Regions from separate parts of the Homo sapiens genome. Here region 2 is linked to region 1. Evidence: promoter capture Hi-C in human tissues and cell types (Jung and others, 2019). All regions are on one chromosome and are shown on one strand. The core of a region is centred on a gene start or on the middle of the fragment in contact, and the rest is flanking DNA. Distances in the headings are between cores, read along the strand shown.

What was found. Contacts are between HindIII fragments. The study calls those that stand out against the background at their distance.
Region 2: a fragment that was not itself captured here is called in contact with the fragment with the promoter of TCF15 in region 1 in 2 of the 25 tissues and cell types used here (H1 embryonic stem cells and spleen).

What each region holds. Positions count from the first base shown.
Region 1 is chr20:607,337-612,886 of GRCh38, forward strand. TCF15 (transcription factor 15) reads right to left here and starts at 2,973. Exons shown (of 2, transcript NM_004609.4): 1 at 2,377-2,973. The coding sequence starts at 2,901. RefSeq lists silencers at 2,891-3,060, 3,071-3,180 and enhancers at 3,880-4,380, 4,381-4,881. The HindIII fragment of the contact is 16,586 bases long and covers 1-5,550 here.
Region 2 is chr20:685,996-691,109 of GRCh38, forward strand. No RefSeq gene overlaps it. Among named protein-coding and RNA genes, the nearest start is that of SCRT2, 13 kb to the left of the region's middle. RefSeq lists enhancers at 2,545-3,125, 3,126-3,704. The HindIII fragment of the contact is 5,508 bases long and covers 1-4,705 here.

The DNA of each region.
Region 1 (5,550 bases), core at 1,723-4,222:
AGGAAACTGTTTCCACGGCAACCCCAACTCCAGACTGGCCAGGATGGGAGGGAGGTGGTGGCTCAGGGTAAAGGAACGGGGTCTTGGGTCTTAAAGCTCTTCTGGCCCACAAAGCTCAGAAGGGAGCAAGAGCTCCCCAAGCCAGCCAGTTTTCTTCCAGCAGAGTCTTCAAGGGGCCATAGCTGGCCAGGATTGCCCCTCTCGCCTATTCCCAGAGGAGACCGTGGGGTTGAGAGCATGGTTTCTACAGCCAAATTTGGCTGAGTTCTTGGTCCCATAGACAGATCCCAGGGAAGCGGCCAGGCCCAGGGGAGGCCCCTGTGAGCTGTGGGACAGGCCTGAGACCTGCAGAGAAGTCCCCCAGCCTGCTTGCTATGGGGGTGGACACATGACAGTTACAGGGACTTCCCTCTGTAACCTATCCCACGTCCCAACCAGGCAGGCCTGAGTTTGAATCCTGGTTCCATCACTGACTGTGTGTCTCTGCGCCACTGGCAGCACCTCTAAGCAAGTGGGGATAACCACAGCGCCTCATTCCTGGCTGTTGCAGGATTTTAATGATAAATCATAAAGAGCGCTTAGCACAGATCAGTGCTCATGAAGGCTGCTGTCACTGCTGTTATTGGCCATTGTGCTCCCCCTCTGCACTCCTGCCACTTTTAACCTCTTCCCTCTTCCTTCTCTAGGCCTGAGCTCTTGCTGTATGCCCCAATCCTAGAACACCCTTTCCTACCCCTTCATCGGCCTGCCCCTGTTCTAAAGCATCCTTCAGAAATGAGACACAGAAACCCTGTCAGCACTCACCCTGGGTTGGAGGCTTTCTCTGGGCTCTGAGAATCCCTTTGTGCTTCCCCTCCCCCACCATCAGACCACAGCATCCTCATCTTCATCTCCCTGCCCTGACCCTGGGGCTGTACTGTCAGGTCCTGACTGGTGGAAGGGTGGGGACCTACAACCTGCTTCTCTGGGGTTCTCAGAGCCAACAGAAGGCAGCTGTTGGGTAGCTAAGGGTTGCTAACTGGAATGAATGGGTGAAAGGCAGTCAGGGAGTATCCCTGAGAGCCCCTTCAGGCCCTCCCATCCCAGGAAGCCTTAAAGGCCCACTCCTGGCTTCTCAGCCCAGCCTGGGGCACTGACAGGGGCCCACAGCTGGGAGCAGCAGGGACCCTGGAGAGGGCACAAGCCTGAGGCTAAGAAGACCGACGATTCAGGGCAACTGAGGCAGCCAAGTGTTGAGCAACCAGGCTGGATATCTGATGAGCCAGACAGAGGGTGGTCTCAGGCCAAGATGCAGAGGCCTCCGCAGAACAGGGTGGAGCAAGGGACCAACGGCAGCTGTGAGAACCAAACAGCAGGGAGTCAGGGGCCTAACTCCAATTCCCCATGCCCTTCCACTTGGCCACCAAAAGTCAGTACTCTCTCAGCCTCAGTTTCCCCGGATGTAAATGGTAGCTGCTGGAATACAAGTTGTTAGACAGGCTTCTTTACTGTAGGAAAAGCCCAGGCCAGAAAGGCACACGGTCGGGGGATGAAGCAGGTTCCTTGGAGCCTGGGCAAGGTTTCAGCCAAGAGGCCACCTCTGCTGCCACACAGCCCCCGCCCACCCCTACCAGCCTGATCCACTTTCTTGCCCAGGACACATTGCAGGAGCTGCACACCAGCTCCCTCCAGCTGACCCAAGAGTGCCCTCTCCCAACACCACGTCCTTTTGGGGGCTGGGGACTCTCAGAGGGCCCCTTCTTCACTCCTACTGCTCATCCGCTGGGTACCTCAGGCTCTCGGTTGGCGGTTTGTGGCCTCCTTTCTTCTCAGTCTCCTGCTCTTGGGTTAGATCTTAGGACAGGGGACAATTATTTCAAGGTGGGGGCAACACACACCGGGCAAGCCCAGGGCCAGCGCCCCGGCTTCCCAGCTGAGTAAATGTGGGCAGGTGATCCCATCTCTGATGCTCAGATCCTCATCAGGATAAAATGGGCAGAAAAACTACCTGCCTGAAGGGATTCTTGTGAAGGCAAAAAAGTGGATGTGGAGCGCATCGGCACAGAGGAAGACTCCATAAAAGATGGGTCTTTGTTACTCAGTCCTCATGCCGTCTTCCCAGCAGGAAGGAAGTTCCAGCACACCTTTCGTTGGAGGGGATATCCCACACTGAGCAGTTAAATCAGACCCGAACTCTGGGTTTTCCCGCATCCTTCTGTTTGGGGGCCTGGGCATTAAGTCAGTGGTTCTGGGCTTGGGGTGCCGCACCCAGCACGAATTCCACGTCGCTTCCCCCTGGCCTCGTTGGGGACCCCTGCACCTCTCCGGTTCCCGCAGAGGCGCTGCCCCCCGCCTACCCCGACCTGGCGGCCGCAGCGAGGGACGCAGCACACTCACCCCCTTGCGCTGGTTGCTGAGGCAGAAGGTGCAGATGGAGCGCGGCTGGCGGCCGCCGTCGGCGGCGGCGGGGACGGCGCCCTTGGCACTGCCCGCGGCACGGAAGCACGGCTGCCCGTCGTCGGCCGAGTCGCCCAGCAGCAGCACGTTGGCCAGGTGCGCGATGTAGCTGGACGCCAGGCGCACGGTCTCGATCTTGGACAGCTTGCGGTCCACCGGCTCGGTGGGGATGAGCGTGCGCAGCGCCGTGAAGGCCGTGTTCACGCTCTGAGTGCGGTCCCGCTCCCGCGCGTTGGCCGCCTGCCGCTGTCGCACCACCACCACGGGGCCCGCGCCGCCGCCGCCGCCCGCCCGCCGCCCGCCCCCGGGGCCCGGGCCGCGCCGCGCCGCCTCCGGGCCCTCGCAGCAGCCGAACGACTGGTCCGACGCGTCGCTCTCGCTGCGGTTCTCCTCGTCCTCGCTCAGCAGCCGCACGTCCGGGTACAGCACGTGCGCGCCGACGGGCCGCAGCAGCGCGAACGCCATGGGCGCCGGCCGCGTCCCTCCGTGCGCCGCGTCCCAGCGTCGGCCGCGCCCCGCCGTGCGCTCCCGCGCGCTCCCACGGCCCCGCCGGCCCCCGCCTTATAGGCGAGGGAGGGGCCAATGGCAAGGCCGCCCCGGCCGGGGGCGGAGGGCTCCGCCCGGCCAATGGGGAGGCGTCCGCCCGGCCAATGGGGAGGCGTCCGCCGCGCCCTGGCCAATGGCGACGCTCCCACCGCCTCCGTCCCCCAGGTTGAAAGCGGCCCGGGAGCCGGCGGCCCACCCCGAAGGCCCCCGTTCCCGGCTGGCTAGCCCGGCAGATGCTGGAGGTCTGGGAGGGTCGGCCGGGGTGGGCCCAGATCCGAACTTTTTGTCTCCAGCCTGGACCACCTGGGAGACGCGGGCAGATCCCTTTCTCCTCTCTGGGCCTCAGTTTCCTCGTTCGGAACGTTCAGATTGCAGAGAAACAGCTAGTGTCTGCCTGCCCTCCAATTCTAATCCTGTAGTTCTGCAGCTTTCACGTGCGTAAGAACTGGGGAAGGGGCTTTTGCTATTACAGAGTCCCAAATTGCTCCCATTCTGATTGAGCAGTTCTGGAACGGGCCCAGGAACCTACATTTTGTAACAAGCCATTGGTGATAGTGGTGGTGTCCGTGGAGAACACTTGGAGAAAAGCTATAATCTTTCCAAATGAGGATTCGACAGTGTCTTGTCCCTGAAGACAAACTTAAAAAGAAGAAGAAAAAAAAAAGCAAAACAAAACCACAATACACAAACACCAGTAGTTCGTTCGTTTTTTCAACAAATATTCGTTGGGTCCCTACTATGTGTCAGACATGGTTTTAGGTCTGAGGATACAGCCATTAACAAAATAAATTCTTCACCCTCACGGAACTGACGTTTTGGTTAAGGAACTACTGTGTACCAGACTCGGTGCTATATACTCTATTGCGCCCAGCTGAGGCTGCAGGATGGCAGCCCTGAGTTACAGGTCAGAGAGCTCCGGCCTTCAGTCGTACAGGTGGGAGTGGCGGCGCTAGCTCCAGCCTGTCCGGTTTCACTACCTCTTGGAATCCTACCACCACCATCCCATCACACACACACGGGCTATCTTTCCTCAATGCCTGCTTGCCTTCTAGAAACCTTAGATTGTTCAGCCTGACGTGTCCTCTTCAGAGAATTGCTGAGCCAAAGGTGGTTGCCGGGGTCTCGATCTCACTCGTGCCTGCTGCTCAGCTCTCTCCAGGCACTAGCTAAACCAGCATCCACTTGGCCTTGAAAATAAGCCCGAGTGGCAGCCGGTGTAGCAGACAGAGCGCAGGGAGTGGAGTTGAAAGGCTTCTAGGTGCATTTTGGCTCCTCTGGGCGTCTGTTTTCCTGACGATGCCTGCAGCTCTGCCATGCTGTGCTTTCCTGGCTTCCCTGATCCAGGCCAGAATTAGGGGAAGAAGAGGGAGCGAGGGATTTCCCATGACTGCCGGGGGAGGAGCCCCTTAGGACCCAGGGTCTGCGGGAGAGTCTGTTCCCACACCTGGATCCCCCCACCGCCAGCATTTGACCGTGACCCCAGCCAGGCTGGGCTTTGGGGAGGAGGGAAACAGCCAGCATGGGCCCCCTCCCCGCAGGGCTGGTCCCACACACAGCCCCAGACCAGGCTGCTGCTTCCTGAGCCGATGAATTATTACCGGGAGATTTCCTTCCCTGTCTGCGCCTCCTCACAGGGGCTCCCAGCTCACTTCACTTTCGCTTTCTCCCCCTTCTCCCCCTCCTCTCTGCTTCTGACCCTCAGGCAGCTTGAAATTCCTCTGTCCAGCCCCCTCCCAATTCCACCTCCAACTGGAGATGCCAACCAAGGCGTGAACTGGGCCCGGAAGGCGAAGAGGGGCTTGCCTTGTAGGCTCATTCATTTATTTGCTCCTTAGGCATATTTTGACACTTGGGACCCTGGGAGTAGAAGAAAACCATGAATGAGACTGAGACAGGCCTTCTGCAGCCGAGAGGGGAAGGCGAGCTGTAAACAAAGGATTTCAAGACAATGTGGTAGGAGCAAGCCAGGGTCTGGTATCAGAGAGACCCAGTTCCGGTTCCAAGGTTAGCTGCTTCCCAGAGTCTCAGTTGCCTGCTCTGAAAATGAGATAATAATAGTACCCATTCCCAGGGCTGGTGATGGTTCCATGAGTTTGTGCCAGTAGAGCTGGGCTTGGCACACAGGAGTGCTCAGTACCTGAGAGGAGTTTGTGCTACTGTTTTTAGGGGCTGGCCCCAGCCAACTGCCTGGGAAAGGGCTGAGCAGCATTGACTTTTCTAGGTCTTGTCCCTGGGAGTGCGGAGGGGACTCCTACCACATTCTCAGCTCACCTACACAGGGGACCTCAGCTTCCCCCATTCTCTGTCCCTCACTCTGCTCCAGCCACACTGGCCTCCCCACTAAATCTGGAGCCCACTTCTTCCTGGCCCCCCTGGCCCCTGATAGTCTCATAGTTTGTTCACTCATTTCCTTCAAATCTTCACTCAAATCTTATCTCAGGGAGGCCCTTCCTGACCACCAGCACTAACAGTAATGGCTTCTCCAACCTGCCAGCACCCCCAGCTCTCCCTTTCCCCTTATCCTGCTTTATTTCTTTTTATAGCATTTGTCACTGACTTTCATTCATT
Region 2 (5,114 bases), core at 702-3,201, 78 kb after region 1:
TGTGCCAGACACTGTGCTAAGAGCTGGGGACACAGCAATGAACAAGACAGAGACCTGCTCTCATGTGGCTTACATCCTGCTGAGCCAAGAGTAGGTAGATATGCCAATGTCCTGTCATAGAAAGCACCAGGCAGGGAAATGGGCAAAGACAGAGAGAGGTGGAGGCCGGGCGCGGTGGCTCACGCCTGTAATCCCAGCACTTTGGGAGGCCGAGGCGGGCGGATCACGAGGTCAGGAGATTGAGACCATCCTGGCTAACACGGTGAAACCCCGTCTCTACTAAAAATACAAAAAATCAGCCGGGCGTGGTAGCAGGCGCCTGTAATCTCAGCTACTCGGGAGGCTGAGGCAGGAGAATGGCGTGAACCCGGGAGGCGGAGCTTGCAGTGAGCCGAGATCGCGCCACTGCACTCCAGCCTGGGCGACAGAGATAGACTCCATCTCAAAAAAAAAAAAAAAAAGAGAGGTGGAGCGAGAGCCATTTTAGATAGGGTAGTCAAGGAAGACCTCTCTGAGGAGGTGACTTTTGTGTAGAGTCCAGAATGCAGCAAGTGCTGGGTGAAGCCTCAGGAAATCTGCTTTAGCATTGCTGTGGCAGATTCAGGGTGGAATCCAGGAGATCCCAGGACTGGTGGTGCCTAGAGCCCAGTTGGCTAGATCAACTTCAGTGTGGATAAATGACTCCCCTGCCCCCGCGAACTTACCTTCCTGGAGCAGTTAAAAGAACGGGGCACATGACCTAGATTCTCTGAGCTTCACTTTTCTCATCTGTAAAATGGGGATTGAAAAGCATAGCTTACAATTCTGAGAGCTGAGTTGATTAACAGAGATGGTCCATGTAAAATGCTGGGCTCAGAGCTGGGCTGACCAGATTCACCTAGTCCTTGGTGGCTGGAGTGGGCAGGTGACCTTCCTTTTGGCCGTCCAGCACCCTCCAACTCCTTGCTTCTGAGACCTCACCTCCCACTCATGGTATCATTGCTGGCCTTCCCAGCCCCGTCTTGGCCAGGGGGCAGTCAAGTGACCCAGATTAGCCTCGTGCCATTCTGTTGAGGGTGTGGTGGTTGCTACATTGAGTGTCCAGAGGTAGCAAGGACTAAAGTCCTGGTGTCAGCATCCAGCGTTGGTGTCAGCAGCACGAGCTCTGTCTTGGGGACCCGTGGTGTCAGCAGTGAAGTCTCCCTCAGGCCAGGGCTTTGGTCTGATTTGAGGGCTTTTTTCTTTTCTGGATATGAAGCCTGTAAGCCTTCTGACCCTCCTGGAGATCCTTCAGGCACGTCTGCAGCCATGGGTCCTGGATGATTTAGCAGCTCACGCCATTGTCTGGAAACTCCACTGGTACTATTTTTCTCATGTTCAGCTCTCTGTGCACAGACTCCATCCTTCTGGCCCAGATGGCCCCTTGGGGATATGCACATACCAAGTTCTTTCCACTGTCCTCACTTTGAGGGCAGGGGCCTGGGTTGTTCATTTTTGTGTCCCCAGATCCTAGCACAGAGCGGCTCAGAGGAAAGGCTCAATGCATGTCCATGGTGTCAACAAATCAGTGGCACAGGATACAGTTTCCACACATCTCCCCATCCTGGTTGCTTCCCCGAACCATTTTCCAGTCTGTCAGTGTTCTTCTGAATATACAGGATCCAGAACTGAGCACAAAACTCCAGAAATAGGTGAATGGAGCTGAGCAGAATGAAACTGTCACCTCCCTTACCGTAGATACCGGACTTCTAATTACATGACCAGACATTTAATAAGCTTGTTTTGTTTCCCTGGGTGGCATATATCAAGCTACTAGCAAGCGTTTTGTTTTCATGGTCCTCTACCCACATATTGTTGCAAAACCTCACTTTACTGCCCTTCTCCCTTAATTTCACGCTTATAATAGTATTGCCCCTCTCTCACTTCCCAGGAATGCCAAGTCGATTACAGCTCAAGAGCCCAATCTTGACTGGTCCGTAGCCTGGAACATGGTGCTGAGATAGATGCTGTAACTGAGTTTGGGCTCACTGAGAAAGACTGCTGCAATTGATTAACGATGTCTGCCAAGCTGTGTAAAGTGAAGTAATGTCATTCCCTATCACAAGTCCTAACCTGGGGTCCATGGAAAGAATTTAGTTGGTCTGTCATTAACTTGGATAGGGAAAGTATTACATCTTTAATTTCATTAACCTCTATCTGAAACTTATCATTCCTTCAATTATGAATGCAGGCAACAGACCACAGTGGTATTAGCAGGACCTGTGACTTTGTCACCAATAGAAATCACAGATTTTTTAAAATGACATTACAGACGTTCCGCATATCTTGAAATATAATTTACATGCACTGTGACTTGGAAATGATAAGTTATTTGCTAAGTACTCATTTACTTACTCACATTTGTTTAGCGCCTAGTCAATAGCCTGGTGACGTGCCAGGACCTGGGCTGGGTGCTATAGGCAAAAGGCAGATGCGTAAGGCTCAGTCCTTCCCTCAAAAGAGAAAAGCAGACAGTGACAATGGAAAGGCTTGATGCTTTGATGGGGGAAGTACCTGAGGCCCCCAACCCAGCCCAGAGGGATCAGGGAAGGCTTCCCAGAGGAAGTGGCCTCTCAGATGAGTAGGAAGTAACCAGACCCCTGAGTGCTGAGAAAAAGTGTTCAGGGAGCAGAAACAGCATGAGTAACGAAGCTAGGAAAGAAAGAGGACACAGGGCTTACAAAGTATTCCATGGCGGGGATGGGGAGGGGAGGAGAGAAGCGGGGAGATGGCTGGGGGGGTCAGGCAGGCCCCTGGAAGTCATGCTTGGCGGTACCCTGGTCGTGGGGGGGAAGGGGTGCTGGCGCTTGCTGCCCCATCTGTCTCAGTGGCATTGAGCTGTGACTTCAGTGGCCTGGGGAAGTTCAAGGTCACCTCTGGGGTGGAGGAGGTGGAGACATCTCACCAGGGCTGGCAAAGGCCAACTGGGAAGCTGGGGCCGATACCTGCCCCTCACGGCAGCCACCACAAGGGGCCTTCTGCTCCGAAGGCCCAAGCACGCCCTGTTCCTTTATTTATGGGCCGTGTGAGCAATTTGCTGCTTGCTGGCCGGCTGGCTGGGTGTGCGATGCGGGGATTACTCACGCCCCAGTTGTGGTCCGGCCTCTGCAGGCTGCGGGGTAGTGAGTGAGGTAATTAAGTGTAAAAGATGGAGCAGGCAGGGGAGGGCTGAGGGCGGTGAGCAGTCACTGGTTCTTTTCAGGAGCAGGGGAGTGAGATAATGTAGGATAATAGCCTAGCCAAACCCTGCCCAGGCAGCCCGGCCTGTGCTGAGAGGTGCCCCCCAAACGGCCAAGACAATTCAGCCTTTTCAGGGAAAATGGGGGGGCTTGGGCAGGGCCTGGCTCCCAGGGACAGCTGTATGGAAATGACAGCTCCTCTCCTTCGTCCTGTCCTGTGTTGGCTCAGGGTAGGGGCAAGTGTAAGTGTCTTCAGCTGGGGATGAGGCCAGGGCAGGGGGCAGTAGATGGGACCAGGAAAGCTGGTGGGTGAGAGGAGGGATCCATGCGGGGCTGGGAGACTGACCTGTGTATGTGGCACAGGCACAGTGGTTCGTGGCAGCAGACTCCAGGGCCTGACTCACCTGGTGGAAACTGTGGTGTGGCTTTGGCTAGCTGTGTGACATCAGCCTAGTTGTGGTCCTTCTCTGAGCCTCAGGACTCTCATCTGTCAAATGGGGCTGTCAAACAATTCCTACTTCCCGGGGGTGTTTGGAGAATGGTTCGTAGCGCCTGATGCACAGGGGCTACGAAATGCTTGACATGGTGAAGTCCAGAATCAGAGTGCATTAGTCATTCACTCATTCAGTGGATAAATGTTTATTGAGTGCCTACCATGTTCTAATGGTTCCTGGGAAAGCAGCAGTGACTAGAACAGAGTCCCTTTCCTCTTGGAGATGACATTCTAAGAGGGGAGACAGACCATTAATCGTGAAACACATAAGCATAAAAGGTCATACCAGCAATCCCACTTCTGAAAACTTATTCTATAGACATGTTTGCATACATGTGGAATGAATGCATTCATGGTTATTTATTGCAATTTTGTTTGGCATAGCAAAATCTTAGTAATGATCTAAATGCCTGTTACACATGGGCTGACTGAAGTATGGAATATTATATAGCCATTAAAAAGGGTGAGACCATTTCTATTTCTGTTTATTTTTATTTACTTTTTTTAGAGATGGGATCTCACTATGTTGACCAGGCTGGTCTTAAACTCGTCACTGGTGAGACCATTTCTTATGTACTGATATAGAAAGCTCCCTAAGATGTTTTGACAAATAAGAAAAGGAATGTGAAGGATAGTTTCTGTAAAAGAGGAGACAATTTGAAAAATGTATTTCTATTAGCTTGTGTATATATGAAACTAATAATAGTTGTTACCCAAGGAGAGGAGTAGGGTTGGAATGAGAGACAGGAAGGGGAGAGTTTCACTGTATACTTTTCTATAACTTTTATTTTTGTATGAAGTGAATGTATTACTAGTTCAAAAAAGAGAAAATAAATATTCAGCTTCCTCTTTCCTCCTTTCCTTCCTCAGCATTTGTTGGAGGTAGCTGTTGAGATTTGGGACTAAGCAACAAAGGCAGCTGAGTGAGGTGGTGGCTCAGTGTGCCTGGGGATTGAACAAACAGGTTCATATATCAAGGATAATGAGAGCCAGGTTGCTCAGCATCAGAGAAGGGAATTACAAGTATGAAAACAGGAAAGGCTAGAAAGAACCCTGTGGTGTTAGATTGGAGTTAGAGGAATCAGTGTAAACTCATAGCTTTTGATATATATAGTTACATAAGCATGCATGCAAGTGTGTGTGTGTGTGTGTGTGTGTGTGTGTGTGTGTGTGTGTGTGTGATGCATATGTGCATTTCCCAGTTCTGTCCAAAAAGACAGCAATAATCAATACACCATGTAGCCACGAATACACCTAACACCTAGATCTTGGGTTTTAAATACTATTCTCCACTGAAAGGAACTGGGGCTTGGGAAAATAGTAGATTTGAGGGCTGGAGCAGGAAAAGTGCCCTGTGCCTGGTACCATGGTACATGAAACATCTAGCTGTGCCATATGATAGGCAAGTGCTCAAGTAATGCTGA